2 separate regions of the Homo sapiens genome follow, and region 2 is linked to region 1. The links are contacts of gene promoters, found by promoter capture Hi-C in blood cells and fetal thymus (Javierre and others, 2016). All regions are on one chromosome and are shown on one strand. The core of a region is centred on a gene start or on the middle of the fragment in contact, and the rest is flanking DNA. Distances in the headings are between cores, read along the strand shown. Region 1 holds the start of SMNDC1 (survival motor neuron domain containing 1). Region 2 overlaps LOC105378482 (a long non-coding RNA gene).

Region 1 (6,073 bases), core at 1,669-4,168:
CTCCCACTGCCCAAGAAGCAATATACAAAACATTGGCACCCAGTGTTTTCTTTTCCTAAAAAAGGACTGCTTAAGTTGGTAAAGGTAGTCAAGGCATCTCTCTTTGGGGCAAACAGAAAGCACTTTACAGAGTGTAAGAAAATAAGAGGTCGGTGTGCCTCTGTTGCCTCATCTTCAATGTATACTCACAACATATGAGCAAATCAAATGGACAGGTGGCAAACCACTGGGTTATTTCTCACTTAAGGGCCTGGGAGTGGGAGAAACTGCTCCCAAAACATCTTTTTTGTATTGACTGGCACCCTGAAGCCCACAGGCCTGGCTTCTACGTATCGAAGAGGGGTCTTGTTCATATTGAAATTAACCCAGATAGTTTGTGTGTGTTTAAAAATAACATACTACTGCAATTTTATTCTAAATGTAGAACTTGAAAGTATTCAACTCATCTTAATTACGCCCAGATAAGCAGTTCCAGAATCCCAAATCCGGACCCTATTTCCGTTAAGTTTGTTTGCAGTTCTGATATCCCTAAAATAGTAATAGTTTTAACGGGCAGTGGGATAATAAAGGGAGGGAATGAATTTTTAGACAGGATACAGATTTGAGTTTAGTACTCAGTCGGTAAAGCAATCTCTAATCAAAACACCCTTGAAACTTTTTAAAAATCAGGTTCAGAATTTAAAGGAAGCTCTTAAAAGTCATATATATTTGCAAATTATATATGGCATTTTTCTGAATCAGTCTGGTGTCCTGAAACACAAAAGGTATTTACTATGATGGCTCTATGTTTGTCTTGAAATCCCAGTGCAGGTTTTCAAAAAAAGGTTTCATTATCTACTAAACTCTACCATGACAAAGATCTCCTTTTCACCACATAGTTCAATTTCCACAAGTGTCAACAACTTTACTGTAAAACCTAGCCTTAAGTCTGAACATCTATGTAACAATTATACAAAGCACTTGTCTCTCTTTAGGCATTTTTGTGGTGTGTTTTCAATACAAAATGTAATCCACTAGCTTTGGGGAAAAAAAAAAGGCACGCATTTTCAAAGAATCTTGTGGTATTAAAAAGAATCTTAAGGTTCTATTTTTCTCCTTCAATCTTTGTTACTTTTTGAACTAAATTTCATTTGCCAGGTCTTAAAAACTAAAAGCGTTTTTCATTGTGAAGTTACATGTACCTCTCGTCTTGAAAATCTGACAGACTTGGAAATTTCTATCAACTTTAGTTTTTAAAAATTATGTAAGCACACAAGATTTATATAACAAAGAACAATATTTCACTCTGATGTACAGAAACCTGAGAACTGGGGAAGCAACCCTACTTCTACAAGCAATGGTACCTACAGAATTTACATATATACATAGGGTGGGGTGTAACCCCTCAAAAGGCGCTTTGGGTACTTAGGGATTCAAGCAATAATTTGAAAAACAGAGAAAAAGTACAATTGTCTACCCATACTTACTTGTAAATCTTTCTTCAATTTTAGCAAATCTTCATTTTCTCCATTTCCAGATAATGCAGCTTCAACTTGCTGGAGCTGAGCTTTGTAGCTTGCCAGCTGCTTTGCTAAATCCTCTGACATCTAGGGAAAATAAAAAGGGTTAGACCATGAAAACTAAACCAAAAATCAAGGCATAAAAAACTAACTCCCCTGTCTGCCTGAATTACCAGTTTTTGCCTCTAACTCCTTCTAACACTGCAGCTTAATTTACCACCATTACCTTTACTCTCAGTTTAGACTTCAGCTAAACCACAAACTTAAAGGCAACAGATTCTGAGGATTATAAACTTGAGATACATTCCATACTTTAAAAAAGCATACAGATACAAAGAAATTTCTAATTTTCTTTTAACTCCTATCCACAGGGTAGGTGCTGAATTCGGCTCAATAATCAGTGTTATCTTTTTAAAAAGCACTACTCTGTTGGAAAAGTCGAAACTTTCAAAAACAATCCAAATACTTATTTTTAAGCACTACAGTATGCTTCCAAAGCCAAACAAGTGCGTTTTTAAATTAACTACACAAACTACGATCTTTACTTGAACTATTCAATTAAGAGTGTATTTAAAAGTGCCTCTCCAAAACAAAAATCTTTCGCCCAGTCGCTTAAATATTTATCGGTGCATTATCTTCAGCAAAAAGAACAGCACAGGTACTCTCCCATTTAGGCATTCTAACGAATGTGCCTTTCGCCAAATCCAGCTCAGTCATTTTCCTGAAAATAAGATACCAATTAACCTTTTTTGATGGTTTATAAGCAAATGTACCACGTTTCCGAGGACCCTTCTCCTTCGTAAAATTCCCGTCCAACCAAAGGCTGGGAGCCTGCAAAGGCCCCCTAAGAGTTACAGCGACCCAGGCTGCTCTCCTCCCCGCCACGCAGCACCTCAAAGCCCGCCACAACTCGATCATTCGGACGTGGAAATCCACACGCCAGCTCCAAGACCACCGCCGGAGCCCCGCCGCGCTCCAACAGGCAGGCTCCACAGGGAGCCGCGCGGCGCCCAGCCCCACCCGACCCGGTCCCCTGCGGGCCGTGTTTGCCGCCGCCGCACGGAGGCCAGCGCCGGCCGGGCCGCCGAGGCTCAGCTCTGGCTGAGAGACGGCCGTGGCTCCGGGATCCAGGGCCAGCGCCTGGGCGTCTCCGGCGAGGCGGGCTCCTCAGCCTTGGGCCTCCGCTTCACCTCGGGAGGGACCCGGGCCCGGCCAGGCCTTACTCTCTCCCTCAGGGGGGTTGTTACCTTGTGTGGGGCTGGGGGCGGGGCGGCGGGAAGGGGTCGGGGCAAATGAGCCCAGTGGTAGTGGCGGTGGCAGCAGCAGCAGTAGCAGTAGCAGGAAAATCACCGCGACGACAGCAAGGCGACCCGGTCTGAAAAGGAAGAACTCGGTCGGCGGCGAGGGGGAAGGGAGGAACGCCGGGCACTGGAAGGAGGAAAAGACAGAGACGGTGAAGTCTCGCGAGAAATACAAACTCTCGCGCGAGGTCGCTCGACTCACGTGACTCCGCGCGCCCTCTAGCCAGTCCCTGGCTGTCAGGGACACGAAGTAGGCGGGGCCTAGGAAGGAAATGGCGTAGCTGGGCTTCGCCAGGCGCGGAATGCAGGTTATCTTCCTGGAGTTCCGGCTTGGAATTTATTGGAAATGCAAATTCTCAAGCCCCACCCCAGACCTCCTGAATCCAGAGACTCTTGTTTTAATAAGCTCACCAGATGATACCAATGTCCGCTGACGTTTGAGAACCACTGCTTTTCCGGGGCGGTGGTGGTGGGTGGCGGGGGGTGTTGGTGGGGGCTCTCTTTACGTTGCCCTGGCTGGTCTCCAGCTCCTGGGCTCAAGCTATCCTCCTGCATCGGCATCCCAAAATGCTAGGATTACAGGCGTGAGCCACCGCGCCCAGCCTGAGAACCACTACTTTATATGATACAAGCCTTAGTAGTAACAGAAAGCTAATTAAATCGTGACAGAAATAACCTATTGGAGAGAAGATTGATTTCTTTAAAATCTGTTTTGTTAAAACCTACTTGGTTTTAATTTAGTTGGGTTAATCTCGCCTGATAGGGAACAACGTCCAAGTTAGTCTAGAATGGTAAAGAGTGGTAGGAATACTCACATTTGTGTTCAAAAAGAAATGCCCCTTGTGTATGTTTGTAATAATATATACGCTTTCTGGACGGATACACAAAACTGTTCAGAGGTTTGGAGTGGAAGCCAAATGTTTTATTGATTACCCTCTTTGCTGTTTACCCTTTTTCCTTTTCTTTTTTTTTTAAACCATATATATATAATTTATTTCAATTAAAAAAGCAATAAAGGCCTGAGACACAAAGTTTTATATAGATGACAGGAAGCAACCTTTCCTGGGAGGTTGGGAGTTTGTTGCTGGATCCATAAAAAGGCCCACTTCTCGCGGATCACCTGAGGTCAGGAGTTCGAGACCAGCTCGACCACGTGGAGAAACCCCGTCTCTACTAAAAATACAAAAAAAAAAAACCAACAACAACAACAACAACAAAAAGCCGAGCATGTTGGTGCATTCCTGTAATCCCAGCTGCTCGGGTGGCTGAGGCAGGAGAATCGCTTGAACCTGGAGGCGGCGGTTGCGGTGAGCCGAGATCGTGCCATTGCACTCCAGCCTGGGCAGCAAGAGTGAAACTCCGTCTCAAAAAAAAAAAAAAAGGCCCACTTCTCAGATGGGCTCTTTTGAACTGTGCCAACATCTTTAGTTCCTAGTTTTCTTTTCAAGGAGCCTTCCCTTTTGTTCTCTACACACACACACATAACCCTTGCAGTGAGTCAGATAACCTGTATAGATGGAAACTAGGTCGGGTTTGTGAGTGTGAAAGATTGAAATTGCAGCAGAGGGCAGCAGTGTGTAGCTAGAATTAAGAAGGCAGACAAAACAGAAAGCATGTGCTTTTAAATAAATATTCGTTTAAAATAAAATGTAGTTTTAGAGAACTTCTGTTATTGTAATTGTGTGTTTTAAGAACCGATGCGAGGAGGAACTTCCTTGAATATAAAGTCAACCTTATTGTGTAAAAATCTCTTAAATGAGAACTTTTCCTGAACCCCATAGATCAGAAAATAGGCAAATATTCATTATAAGTTCCATCATAGATTTCTATACCATCTTAATAATTTTTTCAGGATTGTTTTTAGGATTGTTTTTATCTATGCAACATTCATTTATAAAGAAAAGCTATATTGAATTTTAATTTTCACAAAGAAATAACAGTTTGTATGTGCCAGATACCATTCTAAGCACTTTACACAGGTTCATTTAATTTTCACAATTGTATGCGGTGTTGCTCCAGACAAAACTGGAGCAGACAAAACTAAGAGCAATACTTCAAATAGGCTTTCTGAATTACTATTTCCTTTGAAGTGTCAAAATTTACTTTCAGTGTCTGATTTTTCTTAAAACATTTGCATTCAAACTTAATCATGTTTATTTAAAAAAAAGTATCTTAAACCTTTAGTTTTGAAACGTGATATTTATTTTATTGAAAGACAGTAAATAAATAAAATGTAAAGGCTCCAAATTGTCATCAGAATATACAGCTATTTCCTTTCTACTAAAGAAAATTAAAGTATGGCATGATGGCACCCAGCTACTTGGAAGGCTGAGAAGGGCATCCAGAAGTTTGAGGCTGCAGCACACACTGACTGTGCCTGTGAATAGCCGCTGCATTCCAGCTCGGGCAACATAGTGAGATCCTGTCACAAATTTTAAAAAATTAATTTTTTTTTAGATGGATTCTCCCTCTGTCACCCAGGTTGAAGTGTAGTGGTGCAGTCTCAGCTCACTGCAACCTCCACCTCCCTGGTTCAAGCAATTCCCTTGCCTCAGCCTCCCAAGTAGCTGGGATTACAGATGTGCGCCACCACGCCTGGCTAATTTTTTTGTATTTTTAGTAGAAATGGGGTTTCACCATGTTCGCCAGACTGGTCTCGAACTCCTGACCTCAGGCAGTCCGCCCGCCTCAGCCTCCCAAAGTGCTGAGATTACAGGCTTGAGCCACAGCGCCTGGCCTAAATTAAAAAAAAAAAAATTAAGTATAGCTCTTTGGAAATGTGCCAGCCCACTGTAAAGCAGAAGAATATGCAATAAAGTAATACATGTTGGTCAAATAGGTTTTTTTTTTTTTTTTTTTTTTTTGAGACTGGGTCTTACTCTGTTGCCCAGGCTGGAGTGTAGTGGTTTAATCTCAGCTCGCTGCAACCTCTGCCTCCCAGACTCAAGCAAACCTCCTGCCTCAGCCTCCCTAGTAGCTGGGACTACAGGCATACACCACCATGCCCGGCTAATTTTTGTATTATTTGTTTTTTGCTAGAGACAGAGTTTCGCTATGTTGCCCAGGTTGGTCTCAAACTCCTGGGCTCAAGTGATCTGCCCACCTTGTCTTCCCAAAGTGCTGGAATTACAGGGTGAGCCACCTCCCTGGGGCAGAGACTGCATTCTTTATCTCAGCTTTTATTGTATCATTTCCTGACTAAAAGTAGCCCCAGATTTGGCCGCGTTTTTTCTATCTTGACCAAATGCCAAAGGTGATGAATTAGAGTTGTGT
Region 2 (6,073 bases), core at 1,248-3,747, 130 kb after region 1:
TGAACTTGTGACTTCAAGTGATCCACCCACTTCGGCTTCCCAAAGTACTAGGATTACAGGCGTAAACCACCACGCCCAGCCTAGACTATTGTGATTCTTAAAGGCAGCTACACACTAGAATCATCGGCGAGCTGTTGCATCAGAATCCCTTGAGGAACTGGCTGAAAATTTAGATTACTGGGCCTTACCCTGGACCTTCTAAATCAGATTTCCAGGGTGGAGCCCAGGAACCTGCATTTTTAACAAGCTTCCTAGGGGATTCTGCTGCAACAGTTCTGGCCACACTGGGCCATAGGAAAGACAGAGGGTAGCTGGGGTGGGACATGATGATCACACCTTCCCCTTTGCTTAGGTGATCGTGGAAGTGGCTTTGGGGGATAACAGTGCCCACAGCCAGCCACCAGTACTCTTCATCTAGCTCCTCTTTGAGCCCTAGTCCAAGGCTAGGGTAACAGGGCTGGTCAGTAGCCAGACTTGGTTACTAGATTCGCAACTGGCAAAGCACCTGACCCAGTCTGGGTGCTCGGCAAATATTTGTGGAACCAACTGAATTCCCCTGGGGCTGGCTCTGGCAGGGGACCTGTGACCTAGCCTGCTGGGCTAGACCCTAGCCCCTGCTCCTCCTTCTGGGCCTGGCTGCCTCCCCAAGGAGCCAGCAGGGAGAGGTTTGACTGGTTCCATGGGGAGGAAACCACTGCGGCTCAGCCCAGGGAGCCGCACCCTGAGGAAGGAGAGCTGGGGCAGGAGTAAACATCTGGAGACCCCGTCCTCCCACCAGCAGTAGAGGAGGACCTCCGTCAGCAAGGATCTACTGAGCTGAGACCCAGTGAGCTGAGTCTTAGTGCTCACTCAGGGCTTCTCAATCCCAGCTGCACATAGAATATTGGAAAATATTCAGAAAGTACCACTCTTGGGCCCACCTCCAACCAATGGAATCAGAATCTCTGGGATGATGCCTGAGAATTGATACATCTGGAAAGCAGCACGAGCGATTCTGTTGTATGGCTAGAACTGAAAAACTGCCCGGCCAGCTGGCCTTTCTTTTACTCTCCTTTTGCCCCCCAATGCTTTGTAGTCTGACGTTGCTCAGAAATTTAACAGTAAAAAATCACAGCTCATAACTGGTGAGCCCTTCTGTGTGCCAGGGCCACACTGGTTACTGCAGATAGAGCAGTGAATGTGCCCCTGCCTTCACAGAAGCCACTCGCAGAGAAGACTAGCAGAGAAGGCAGGCTAGCAAACAAAGCATCAGAATAGAGTGTTCTGGGGGTGTCCAAGAGGAGCCCCCACTTCAGAGCCTGAGGGTTGGTAGGGATGAGGGGAGGCTTTCTGGAGGAAGTGGAGCCTAGGTGGAGGTCTGAGGACAGGTAGAACGGGTAGAGGTAAGCCTGGGGAAGGTGAGGTGGGAGGAGTGAGGAAGGCAGACGGAACAGCCTGTGCTAGCAAGAAGAGCCCCAAGCAAGAAGGAGCTCGATTCACGTTCAGATCTCAGATCGGCTGCAGTGTGGATGGAGGGATTCCCACAGGAGGGATTAGACCTGGGAAAGGGGACAGGGCTAGATCGCACAGAGGTCTGTATGCCAGTAAGGCAATTTTGATCCTAAAAATAAGAAGCCAGTGATGGATTTAGAAGATGGGAGAGTAGAGATGGACAAGAGTGGAGCTGTGTTTCCTCTGCGGCTAGGTGCAAAATGGATTGGAGAAGGGAAAGTGGAGGCAGGAGACCAGCCAGGAGGAGAGCTGTCTGGCCTGGGAGACGAGGGCCACCTGGCTCAGGTGGCAATGAAAGGGTGCAGACAAATTGAGGCGCTACAGAGGAAGTGGCTTTAACAGGGCTTAGTGACTCACAGGAGAAGGGACAGGCAGGAGTGCCCAGTATTATGGGCTGAACTGTACACCCCCAGAATTCACTTTTTGAAGCCCTAACCCCCAGTGCCCCAAATGTGATGGTATTTGGATATATTAGTTTGGTGCAAAAGTAATTGCGGATCTTGCCATTACTTTCAATTACTTTTGCACCATAATAGAAGCTTTGAAGAGGTGATTAAATTAAAACAAGGCTGTTACAGTGGACCTTAATCCAATCTGACTAGTGTCTTTATAAGAAGAGGAATTATTATTTTTTTTTTTTGAGATGTAGTTTCCCTCTTGTTGCCCAGGCTGGAGTGCAGTGGTACAATCTCAGCTCACTGCAACCTCTGCCTCCTAGTCCAAGCGAGTTTCCTGCCTCAGCTAGGATTACAGCCGCCCACCACCATACTCGGCTAATTTTTGTATTTTTAGTAGAGACGGGGTTTCACCATGTCAGCCAGGCTGGTCTCCAACTCCTGACCTCAGGTGATCCACCTGCCTCGGCCTCCCAAAGTGTGGAATTACAGGTGTGAGCCACCATGCCCAGCTGAAGAGGAAATTTGGACACACAGAGAGACATCAGGGGTGCACATGCACAGAGGAAAGGCCATGTGAGGATGTGAGGACACAGCCAGACATTTGCAAGCCAAGAAGAGAGGCCTCAGGAGAAAGCAACCCTACCAACACATTGATCTTGGACTTCCAGCCTCCAGAACAGTGAGAAATACATTTCTGTTGTTTAGACCACCAGTCTGTGGTGTTTGTTACAGCAGCCCTAGCTGACTGATACACCCAGGATGAAGCTGAGGTTTCTAGTTTGCACAGCCAGGTGTGTGGGTACCATGTATTGAAGGGGGAGTGATATAGTTTGGATCTGTGTCCCTGCCCAAATCTCATGTTGAATTGTAATACCCAGTATTGGAGGGAGTGATGGGATCATGGGGGTGAATTTCTCATGAATGGTTTAGCACCATCCCCTTGGTGCCGCCTTCATGGTAGTGAGTGTGTTCTCAGGAGATCTGGTCCCTTAAAATTGTGTAGCACCTCCCCGCCCCCCGACTCCTACTTGTGCCACATGATGTGCAAGCTCCTGCTTTGCCTTCCACCATGATTGGAAGCTTCCTGAGGCCTCCCCAGAAGCAGATGCCAGTGTTATGCTTCCTGTACAGCCTACAGAACCATGAGCCAATTAAACCTCTTTTCTTTGTAAATTATCCAGTCTCAGGTATTTCTTTATAGCAATGCGAGAATGGCCTAATACAGGGCAGATGAGAGGTTGAGTTTGAAACCTGTTGTGTTAGAGGGGCTCAGTCACCAGTTGCACTGGCCACAGCTGCTCCTCTCCTGATGGCACAGAAAGGCAGCCACGTAGGTAGGGGATGGGAACGGGAGGTCTGGAGACCACGCTCTAGGTTTACCTGCACACTGTGTGGCATCGGAAAAGCCCTGCACCTGCTCGGGGGCCCTCCTGTAGCAGGACCGATTGGTCTTCCAGGTCCCAACAGGCCGGGCCTCCGAGGCCTATTCCCAGCAAGGTGCTCCTGGAACGACTTCAGCACCTCTCCAGGGAAGGTGCTGTTGTTCTTGGTTCTCCCATCCAGGATGTTAACCAGGAAGGGGGCCAGTGCCCCAGGAGGCCATGAAGTGCAAACAACTCTGAGTTGGCAGCAGTGCCCTGTTCCGCCCGCAGAGCCTCCCTGCAGGAAGTTGGCTCCAATAGGTCCCCAGACACCCTCACCTCAGACCCAGGAGGCCCAGAGAGGAGCTCCCGGTGCCAGGGCTCAGAGAGAGCTGGCCCTACCAAGGCCTGTGCCTGCTCCTTCAAACACTTGGGCTTTCCCTCCTCGTCTCACACTCCAACATGCCCGACAGATAGGACTGATAGATTCAGGGGGAAAAAACAAACAAACAAACAGGATGCCCAGTTAAATTTGAATTTCAGATAAACACCAAATAGTTTTTAATATAAGTATTTTCCTTGTAATATTTGGGACATGCTTATTCTAAAAAAGTATTTGGTGTTTATCTGAAATTCAAATTTAACAAGGGTGTCCTATATTTTATCTGGCATTCCTACCCAGAAAAGACCCCAGGAGTCATCCAGTGATCCCCAAAGAGGAATGGGGTGGTTCCTCTGCCCCCCAACTCAACCCACTTGCTTCAGCCAGAGGCTGATGACAACTTGTCATTTCCCAAATCCTTGTCAAGCTGCTCACCAGATGTTAGGGCTGGCTTTGGTGCCAAGGTATCTTTGGAAAGGTGTTGTGTCTAATTAACCTAATAAGTAGGTTGTAAGCTCTGACCGGAAGTGGTGGAGGATTCACCCTGACAGATGGGGAGGAGTGGGTCATGCCTGTTGCAGGCACCTGCCCACAAGCTGCCGGCTGTGGCCTGCGGAAGGGCTAATGGGAGGCTTCAGCTTCACATGAGACACAGGGCAAGCAGAAGTTACACAACATCATATTACCAGTGACAATAGCTGCCATTTATAGAGCCCTTACTATGCCAAGCATGGATCAAGCATTATCTCATTTAATCCTTACAACAATTCTAGCAGGCAGAAGCTGTTATTATCCCCATTTAATAGATGATCAAACTGAGGCCAAGAGGCTGAGTAACTTGCCCAAGTTCACATAGCTAGAAAGGGATAGAGACAGGAATTAAAACCCAGTACTTCAGACTCTGGACTCTGTGCTTCTAGCCACTGTCCCCTCCGTCCTTTCCCCCAACCCCAAATCGTTTTCAAGACATTTGGTGAATGACATATACAGTACACGGAGAGATACAAGGAAATACCATTTATGATTCCATCAATGTTGATCAAGCATTTTCTGTATGTGAGACATTCTCCCTTTCCTCTGACCTCACGGACATCATAGTCTGGTAGGAGACACAGATATCAATAAATTATTGTATGAGAAACAGAACAAAAACAGTTCAATGAAATATAATTGCTATTAAGGAAATATAATTGCTATTAAGGATACTGCTGTTAGGGAAGGCAATAGACTTGGTGATCAAGAGCCTGGGCCCTAGGGCCAGGCTGCTTGGACACAGTCTCCCTTTACTAGGTATGTGACTTTGGCTGGATTTCTTAGTTTATTTCTGCCTCAGTCTGCAAAATGGGTGCAATATTACTCACCTCACAATGTTGTAACAATTAATTAAACCGATCCTTGAAAGGCACTTAGATAGTATCTAACAGTAATTACTTTAGTCAACAAATACTTACTGAGAACCTGCAATATGCCAAGCACTGCTCTAGGTTATTGGGATCCATTGGCAAACAAAATGGAAAAAATATCTACCCTTGTAGGGTTTATATTGTTGCTTACATTCTAGTGATAGCCATTATTGTTATTATTATTATTATTATACATTTTCACTGCTCCTTGTGGAGCAGGGCTACCCTATAAGCAGTGAGCCCAGAGTAACCAAGCCATTATTTTAAAATGAATTCTTATTATGTAAATAATGTTAGTTCATATTTTAAAATTATTATTAATTTTTTTATTTATTCTTTTTTTTAGAAACAGGGTCTCACTCTGTTACCCAGGCTGTAGTGCAGTGGCGCAGTCATAGCTCACTGCAACCTTGAACTTCTGGGCTCACATGATCCTCCTGCCTCAACCTCCCAAGTAGCTGGAACTACAGGCATGTGACACCATGCCTAGCTAGTTTATTTTATTTATTTATTTTTTTGTAGAGATGGGATCTTGCCATGTTGCCCAGGCTGGTAAAATTGTTATTTTTAAGTGATTTGTTATTATTTAATAATTTTTTCTTGGCCTTAAGAGGGCACAAAACAGGAAGATATTTCACCCTCTGGGTTGGCACAAGAATATTTCCTATGGTTTTAAATTCCCACTGGGTTTGGGGATGGGAGTTGATACTACTGATAGCTGACCAGCTTTGAGGCAGAATGGGTTAAAAACTTGGGAGTGGGCCGGGCACAGTGGCTCACGCCTATGATCCCAGCACTTTGGGAGGCCGAGGTGGGTGGATTACCTGAGGTCAGGAGTTCGAGACCAGCTTGGCCAACATGGGGAAACCCTATCTCTACTAAAAACACAAAAATTAGCCGGGTGTGATGGCATGCACCTGTAGTCCCAGCTACTTGGGAGGGAGGCTGAGGAAAGAGAGTTGCTTGAACTCGGGAGGTGGAGGTTGCGGTGAGCTGAGATTGTGCCATGGCATTCCAGGTTGGGCAACAGAGTGAGTC

Evidence for each region. Contacts are between HindIII fragments. The CHiCAGO score rates a contact against its expected background, and 5 or more counts as called.
Region 2: a fragment that was not itself captured here is called in contact with the fragment with the promoter of SMNDC1 in region 1 in 1 of 17 cell types (activated CD4 T cells); the score reaches 5.5 in activated CD4 T cells.

Annotation. Positions count from the first base shown.
Region 1 is chr10:110,302,002-110,308,074 of GRCh38, forward strand. SMNDC1 (survival motor neuron domain containing 1) reads right to left here and starts at 2,919. Exons shown (of 6, transcript NM_005871.4): 1 at 2,747-2,919; 2 at 1,467-1,586. The coding sequence starts at 1,586. RefSeq lists a silencer at 2,431-2,750. The HindIII fragment of the contact is 6,895 bases long and covers 1-6,073 here.
Region 2 is chr10:110,430,477-110,436,549 of GRCh38, forward strand. It overlaps LOC105378482 (a long non-coding RNA gene), which reads right to left. Exons shown (of 4, transcript NR_188210.1): 3 at 4,648-4,731. Among named protein-coding and RNA genes, the nearest start is that of DUSP5-DT, 63 kb to the right of the region's middle. RefSeq lists an enhancer at 508-1,113. The HindIII fragment of the contact is 939 bases long and covers 2,029-2,967 here.